2 separate regions of the Homo sapiens genome follow, and region 1 is linked to region 2. Evidence: promoter capture Hi-C in human tissues and cell types (Jung and others, 2019). All regions are on one chromosome and are shown on one strand. The core of a region is centred on a gene start or on the middle of the fragment in contact, and the rest is flanking DNA. Distances in the headings are between cores, read along the strand shown. Region 1 overlaps TTC8 (tetratricopeptide repeat domain 8). Region 2 holds the start of TTC8 (tetratricopeptide repeat domain 8).

Region 1 (4,226 bases), core at 962-3,461, 43 kb before region 2:
GACATACCAAAATAGGAAAGAGTGGTAGCAGGAAGATCAAAAGTCCAGGAAAGAAAAGACAGCAACCAAGACCAAGCTTAGAAATACATACAAAATGAAAAACTAAATAAACCTTCTACAGTTATTATATATTCTTTCTAAAATACTGATAATCATAAATGTATGCATCTAATGTTATCAATGAATGTTATATTTCTCAAGTCCACCTTCAAGGCCCTGTTCAGGCTCCACATCCTTCATGAAGATTTCCCTAATGCCTTCACTTCACATAGCTGTCTTCTACCTCTCAACTTACATGGTGTTTATTATGTGAACTTGTTCTCATTAGAGAAGGACTCATACTTTTCATTAAATTTTAATCATATCAAATATAAGAGACTCTACTGATTGTTAAGAAGCACCATGCAGTGCTTTTTTTAAACAGAATTTTTATTTGATCCTCACTGATATTTAGACATACTCATACACAGATTGCATCACAGATCACTCTTTTGCATACTTTGTGGTAAGAACATTTAAAATCCACTTTTAATATTTCTTAAAAGTGCTCCACTATTGTCTCCAAGATTTTCTTCCAACCTATGGACAGTCATTCTGCTATGCTGATACCTGTGTTTTCTTGATTTTCTTGATCTTACCAGCAGGTGTCAACAAAAGCTTTCAGGCTACAACCAGTAATAATTACCAGGTTCACCATGCTCCCAAGAGTAATTACCCAAGTTTCCATATAAACAGACTATGACAACTACATGGCAACTGCCACTTGGCCATAAAAAGATGCTATCCATTTTAAGATGTATCTCAAGTTCAGAGATGTTAAAATGTGAAAAAAAATGTGTTTTTAGAGTCCATGAAATATGGTAAATTCCTTTAAAGCAAGATCATATGTGCCATTTCTTAGCACAAAATTTAGTGTTCTAGAAACTGAAAAATTAATAAACAAGAATTAAACAACTCTAAAAAATGTTCTTAGCTTCCCATGTTTCCATTAGAACAGAGGTTCTCAAACGTTTTGGTCTAAGATTCCTTTTAAACTGTTAAAAATTGCTGAGAAGAAGTTTTGTTTATGTAAGTTATATAGATTAATATTAGAAATTGCAACTGAGCTATCTTTAAACATTTACTTATTAATTCATTCTAAATAACACAAAATAAACCTATTACATGTTCACATACATAACATTTTTATGAAAAATAATAAGCTCTTCTGAGTGGAGAAAGTCTGTAGGTTGGTACAACTATGTTTGTGACAGGGTAGATTAGTCTGTTTAACCCAGAGCGAGAAGGTTGTTAAGTCCTTTTGAGCATAGGTCTAAAGCCAAAAGCTCCACTTCTGCTTTTATCTGTAATCAAGCTAATGGTCTGACCTCTATTTGTCGAAATCTTGTATCTCTCTCTCAGTTGGTTCTCAACATGGAGAACAGGGATGTAACTTATCAGTCCCATAAAACCCTAACAAAACATTCACCAGTTGACCCAAATCTATGTTTTATATATATTTCTTCATGTGCTTTATATTTGAAATTCTTTTTCAAAGCCAACAGCATCCCACAGTGCTAGGCTTCAGTGTTACAGCTTCCAAAGGTGGCAACGCCCAATGCAAAGAAGGCTCAAGCCTCAATAAGCCAGTTGGTTCAAGACTTTGGGTTCTATAAAATTACTTTTGAATACTTGTATACTTAATTAATGGACACAGAAATTAATTTATGTAATCTCGAGGAATTTTAGACTGAAACACCTATTGTACTGACAACCTCGTATGTAGGTTTTCAATTAAGTTTTATAAACTTATAAAATATGTGCTTATACTAAATAAATGTAAACCTTACAAAACGGTACAAAATTAAAAGTAAATGCCCCATCCCCAAATTGTAGTAGGCAGAGGCTCTGTTAATAGCTTCTTGAGTATTGTTCAGGAAATTTTGTTCATACATAAGCATACATATGGGTGTGCATATTTTAACCATAAACAGAATCATTCTATACATTCTAATATACAGTTTATTTTTTCACTCTCAGTGTCTTGACTCTTTCCATATCAAAACCAAAAGCTTTACTTCATATTTTTAAATAATACTTCTGCATAGTGTTCCATCAATACAGAGACCATAATTTATTAAACCAGTCCCTTTTTGTTCAAGCATATGTTTCCTTTTTTTAACCAAAAAACATGCTATAAAAACATCTTTGTACAGATCTTTGTGCACTTGTATGAAAATATCCTTAAGGAAAATTCCTAGAAGTAATATGGCCAGGTCAAAGAGCATGCACATTTTAAAATATCATCAATAATTGCAAACAACTTCCAAATGTTCATACATGGAGCTTGTTTCTCTACACCCTTGGCAACCCTAGATAACATAGAACTTCTTCATCTTTGCTGATCTGATTGAGTGAAAAATGGCTTATCACTGTTGTTTTAGTTTTTTATATCTTTAATTATGACAGAGGTTAGGCATTTAACACATCAGATATTATTTATATTTCTCTTTCAGTGAACTGCCAATTCATATTTTTTGTCTGTTCTTCTATCCTATCCTATCTTTTGTCCCTCCACGATTGTGTGTATGGGAGTCTTGGGTGGAACACTGCCCTCCTGGACACAGGAGAGCTGGAGGCTGAGGTGTGGCTCAAGAATCCCTGGGCACTGACTGTGTTCTATTCCAGATGAAAAGAGCCCGTGTTGATGTTGACCATAGTTCAACAACACAGGAAGGCTCAGTGTTTATAAACATTCTCTTCAGAGGAAAAGTATAGATGGTTAATTAAGTTCTTCCAAATAGGTGTCACCAAGCCCTAAGTACAAAAGGGGGGCGGTATAGTCAATGCAGCTGGAACTTGGTTGTTGTCTCATCTCTGTGGTGATTTTACTTTCACAGAGAGGGTCAATGGCCACTGTGTAGGCTGAAAGGAAACAAGAGCCTAAGGAAAAGCCACACCATGACATGGAAATACCTCGTTTCCATGTTTACATTCTTGACTAAATAGATGAGAATTTGTGTGTGCGTGTGTGTGTGTGTGTGTGTGTGTGTGTGTGTTTAAATCTCCCATTTTCAGCAATTTTTAAGCAATGTGTAGTTTGAGGAAATCAAAAGCAGTCTTTTGTCTGTCCCAGGTATGCCAACTATTTTCCCTGTTTGATATTTTTATCTTTTGTTTTGTTGTATATGGGTTTGGTTTCTATTTTTTGTTTTTGCCATTTAGAAAATTTAACTTTTACATTCTCAAATTTATCAATCTTTGCTATTATGGCTTTTTGACTTTGTGTCATGATTAGAAAAATCGTCCTCATTCCAATTTATACAAATAATTCATCTGTGTTTTCTTCTGGAACTTTCAGGGTATCATTTTTTGAAGTTTTAAATTTTTAAAGTTTTAAATCTGGCAGTAATTAATAGTATAAATCATTACTCATCCAGCTCTATTTTTAAACTATTTATTAAATAACCAAGTAATGCAATTGGCTTAATAGGCTATCTTTCTCACATCTTAAATTTTCATATATATGAACACACATTGACTCTATTTTCTTTATTCCTTTATCAGAGTTGTTTAAATTTTACTAGTTCTAGAATAGATTTTATTAATGTAGACTTAAAATTACATTTTCAAGTATATAAATGCCATTGCAAGTATATAATAAATTTGGTATCAAGTGATTTTTAGTGGTTATTTTTGATCCAATTCACAAAATGTAGACACAAAATCTTTAATTAGATTTTTAAATTATTATTATTTTTATTTTTATTTTTGAGATGGAGTTTCACTCTTGTTGCCCAGACTGGAGTGCAATGGCACGATCTTGGCTTACCGCAACCTCTGCCTCCTGGGTTCAAGCAATTCTCCTGCCTCAGCCTCCTGAGTAGCTAGGATTACAGGCATGTGCCACCAAGCCAGGCTAATTTTGTATTTTTAGTAGAGACAAGGTTTCTCCATATTGGTCAGGCTGGTCTCGAACTCCAGACCTCAGGTGATCTGCCCACCTCTGCATCCCAAAGTTCTGGGATTAAAATAAAATTAAACAACTGCAGAAAATGAATGCTGCAGTAGTTTTCAAATTTTGTTCTGCAACAGAATCAATCACCTAGTGGGCTTGCTAAAAATCCAGATGCCTGAGTCCCACCTTCCAGGACTTCTGATTCAGAGGAAGAGGATGGGTCATACTTCCCATCCACTCCCAAGGTAATTTCATACACAGTAAAGTTTGAAGACCTCTAGAATAACAT
Region 2 (4,121 bases), core at 836-3,335:
CTGGCACATCAAAGGTTCTTTTTTTGAGACAGAGTCTCTCTGTCGCCCAGGCTGTGGAGTGTGGAGTGCAGTGGTGCGATCTCCGCTCACTGCAAGCTCCGCCTTCCGGGTTCACGCCATTCTCCTACCTCGGCCTCCCGAGTAACTGGGACTACAGGCGCCCGCCAACACGCCCGGCTAATTTTTTCTATTTTTAGTAGAGAGGGGGTTTCACCGTGTTAGCCAGGATGGTCTCAATCTCCTGACCTCGTGATCCGCCCGCCTCGGCCTCCCAAAGCGCTGGGTTTACAGGCATAAGCCACCGTGCCCGGCCACATCAAAGGTTCTTAACAAGCTTCTGTTGTACCAACGTAAAGGGTCAATATTTTGTCACAAGTCCCAAACATATTTGATTGTGTATTTTTTTAAGCAATATCTATAAGATTACTATGCCAAAAACACATTTGGGGGCTGGGCGCGGTGGCTCATGCCTGTAATCCCAACACTTTGGGAGGCCGAGGCAGACGGATCACGAGGTCAGGAGTTCGAGACCACCCTGGCTAACACGGTGAAATCCCGTCTCTACTAAAAATACAAAAAAATTAGCCAGGCTTGGTGGCACGTAACTGTAGTCCCAGCTACTCGGTAGTCTGAGGCAGGAGAATCGCTTGAACCTGGGAGGCGGAGGTTGCAGACAGCCGAGATCGCGCCGTGCCACTGCACTCCAGCCTGGGCGACAGAGCGAGACTCCGTCTCAAAAAAAAATAAAAAAAAATAAAAAAAATTTAAAAAAACCTTGGAAAAATGCTTGTCTACAGAAATATAGTCCTATTAATTAATGTGAACTAACAACAGAACCTAGCTTTGTATTACCACTAACGTAGGCTGTTCTAAGAGAGATGTACTATCTGAAAGACAAAATGTTCATCTCAGCAGGTTATCATCCATCATCCATTTGCTGGGAGCTAAGGCAGAGCCTAGTAACAGCATTCACACTCAGGCCTCCGCTTTTGTAACTCCCTTCAATTTTCCATTTTTTCTAACATCTCCAAGGCAACACCACTAGAGGAAAAGCTAGGGAACTAGAACTACGTAGGTATATTCCGCACTTACTAAAAGCACTGACAAACTGCCGCAGCGCTACTTCTGTTCTCCCATTTTCTCCTTTTTTGCCTATTCCAGGAGCCACCTGCCCACCAGAATTGTACCGCTCACGTACATTGTATACTACCTTTTCCACTCGCTATACACATTACTCTAGTTTAAGTTCTCTTTTCATCAATGCCATCATTCCTTCTTGTAAGGAGCCTTTCTTTCCCATTTCTCCCTCCTACAATTAGAGCTTCCCTTGCCTAGGTAATTTTTTAAATAATGAATGTATCTTTCTCCCTCCTAGATTCTCATTCTTCTAATTTGCATATTTGCCTCAAGCTAAACTCATGGCCTCCTTCACTCTTGGACAACAGTCTAAAGATGAGGTGGGAGGATCACATGTTCGATCCAAAAGGAAGAAGGCAGCTATGTTAACAGGAGGTGGAGAGTCACAGATCTTTGTTTATGCATATTTTTTAGAAATTAACAACGCACACGCTGAGAGCTTAAAGCCCATCAATATGCAAGTATAAACGAATTATCAAAGTTCCTCGTCAAGTAAAGTTCAGGGCTCTCATTCTGGGACACGTATAGGGGAGGGGAGGCTGAAAATTGTGAGGAGGGGGCGGTCATGGCACAGAACTTGCTATCCCCGTGGACGTGGCGGACAGCGGACCCGCTAGTCACAGCTCCACAAGGTCTCGCTCCGGGCGCCTCCGAGGGCCGAACGGTCAGCCCCGCCTCGGGCCTTCCTCCCCGGCCTCCCAACCCGGGGCTGGGATATGCCCCAGACCCCGCAGCCTCAGCGTCAGGATGCACAGGCTGACGGGAGCTGGCCGGTACCTGGTCATAAGGGGACTTCTCCAGCATCTGCGTGCATAGATCGGCGCAGAGCTGGAACTTCCTGCGCCTAAAATAGCTCCAGGCCAGGAGCAGCGGCTCCATCTCCGAGCTCATGGCTGCCGGTGCGGCCAGCGAAGGCCCAGCGCTCCAGGAGAGAGGTGGGCGTGGAGTGAAGAGCTGGCGGCGTCCGACTCTGCCCGGCAACCCGCGACGGCTGGGGCCTTGTCCGAGAGGTGCCCGCAGCGCGCCTGAGAACAGGAAAAAGAAAAACAACCGCAAGCAGAACTCGGCTACAGGGCTTGCCTAAACTTGGTTGGAAAAAGATGTCTACTTTTAAAGGCTACAGGTTTCATTGATTTTGAAAAGAAGGCACCGCGGCTAAACAAAAAGGTAGTGAGTTAGACACCTGCCCCTGGGGTCCCCCACCCTCCCAGGAGGCGCAGCTGCCTAGCAACCGAATGCTCTGCCTGCCCTGCAGGTCCGGAAGAGTCCCTGGAGTTGATCTCTGTCTGGTGTCTGTCCTACTTCTTCCATTCGCTCGTTTCCATCCCTTTCGCTTTACCTTCCGATTCTAGAAATACAAACAAGTAAACAGCTTCCACAGTACCATCCACCCATCAAGACCTAAAGTCCTAAATCCTGAAATTGTCCGCTGTTTCTCGAGGTCCTTCCCACCGAATCTCAACATCTGAACTGCAAGTGGTTTGCTTTTACTCATTTTACAGATGAGAAACTGAGATAGACTCAGAGAAGAGAAATTATTAAAATTGCATTGAGTTAGGGAGCTGGAACTGCAATCTGGTTGACTACAAGTTGCTAATACATTTGTTAATTCGACTCACATGGTGATTCCGGATTGTAAATTGGTGACAGTTTTACCAAACTAGATAATGTGTGCAAAATAATAATAATAATAATAATAATAATAATTTTTAAAAGCTTTGTGAAACATCGTCTCCTGGCACTTGCTGTTTGGCAAGGGTTTACTTGTGCAGAGTGATTTCTTCAAACACAATTCTGACTTTTCTCTAGAAATTTGCACAGATGACAAATATGCTTAAAATTGCAATGGTTATGAAAAGAGAGGTGTGACCGGCTAAATCCAGGTAGGCTTTTCTCAAACCACTGGGGTCTGAGAAAACATTAGACATTCTATTTAATCCACATATTTATATTTTTCATAGGTATTAAAATGAAACTTATGCTTCTAAACTAAGAAATTTATTGTTACCTTTTATTCTCTACTAAGCAGTCTTTCTTGAATTGTTGTATTTTGGAAGTCAGTAATTATCAGGATTGTCATTGTTACAGTTAAGTGTATTGTCATTAGTCTATTTGTGTTCTCCTGGAACTGCCGGTAGAAATGTAATCTCCCTAAAGGTCCTAATGAAGCAGCCCATGGTTTCTGAGTGTCAAATTTTTAAGAACGCACATGCCGACAATTGACAATTGGGCTCAATATTTCACAGCGTCTTTTTGTTTTCTGGTACACTGTAAGCAGATTACTATGTAAGTGATTTTCAACCCTACTAGAGAAAGTGAAGCACAGAGAAACCCTTTAAAAGGGTCAGTTTCACAAATGATGCTAGATCTCAGTTCATAGATCCTTATCTTTTACTCTCTAGCATATAGTCAGATGTTCTAAATAAACTTTTTTAAAGAATAGTTTTCGATTTACAGAAAAGTCACAAAAATAGTAGACAGTTCCCATATACCCAGTTTCTCTATTGTGTGAGATGTTGACATTTGTTTTAGTGTAAGATGATACATTTGTTACAACTAAGGAATCAACAATGGTACATTACTATTAAATAAACTCCACAGTTTATTTGGATTTCAGTAGTTTTCCCTTAATGTTATTTCTCTATTCCAGGATCTCACTTAGGGTACCACATAACATTCGGTTATCATGTCTCCTTCACCTCCTCTGACACTGTGGCAGTTTTTTAGACATTCCTTGTTTATGATGACCTTGACAGTGTTGAAAAGTGCTGGTCAAGTATTTTGTAGAATATCTGAGAAGTTCTTAAAAATAGAGATGTCCCAATTCCAGCCCTAGAAATATTGACTTAAATTGTTTGAGGTAGGACTGGGGCATCGGTTTTGTTTTTTTAAGTGTCTCAGGTGATTCTGATGGGTAGCCAGGATTAATCACCCACTACATTGAGTTCTAGTCATGTATCTATTGAGATTATTGCCAACTTCCT

Evidence for each region. Contacts are between HindIII fragments. The study calls those that stand out against the background at their distance.
Region 1: a contact is called between a fragment that was not itself captured here and the fragment with the promoter of TTC8 in region 2, in 2 of the 25 tissues and cell types used here (adrenal gland and aorta).

Annotation. Positions count from the first base shown.
Region 1 is chr14:88,865,195-88,869,420 of GRCh38, reverse strand. All of the region lies in intron 10 of TTC8 (tetratricopeptide repeat domain 8), which reads right to left. Among named protein-coding and RNA genes, the nearest start is that of TTC8, 43 kb to the right of the region's middle. The HindIII fragment of the contact is 3,687 bases long and covers 368-4,054 here.
Region 2 is chr14:88,822,615-88,826,735 of GRCh38, reverse strand. TTC8 (tetratricopeptide repeat domain 8) reads right to left here and starts at 2,085. Exons shown (of 15, transcript NM_144596.4): 1 at 1,915-2,085. The coding sequence starts at 2,028. RefSeq lists an enhancer at 2,074-2,433. The HindIII fragment of the contact is 5,735 bases long and covers 1-4,121 here.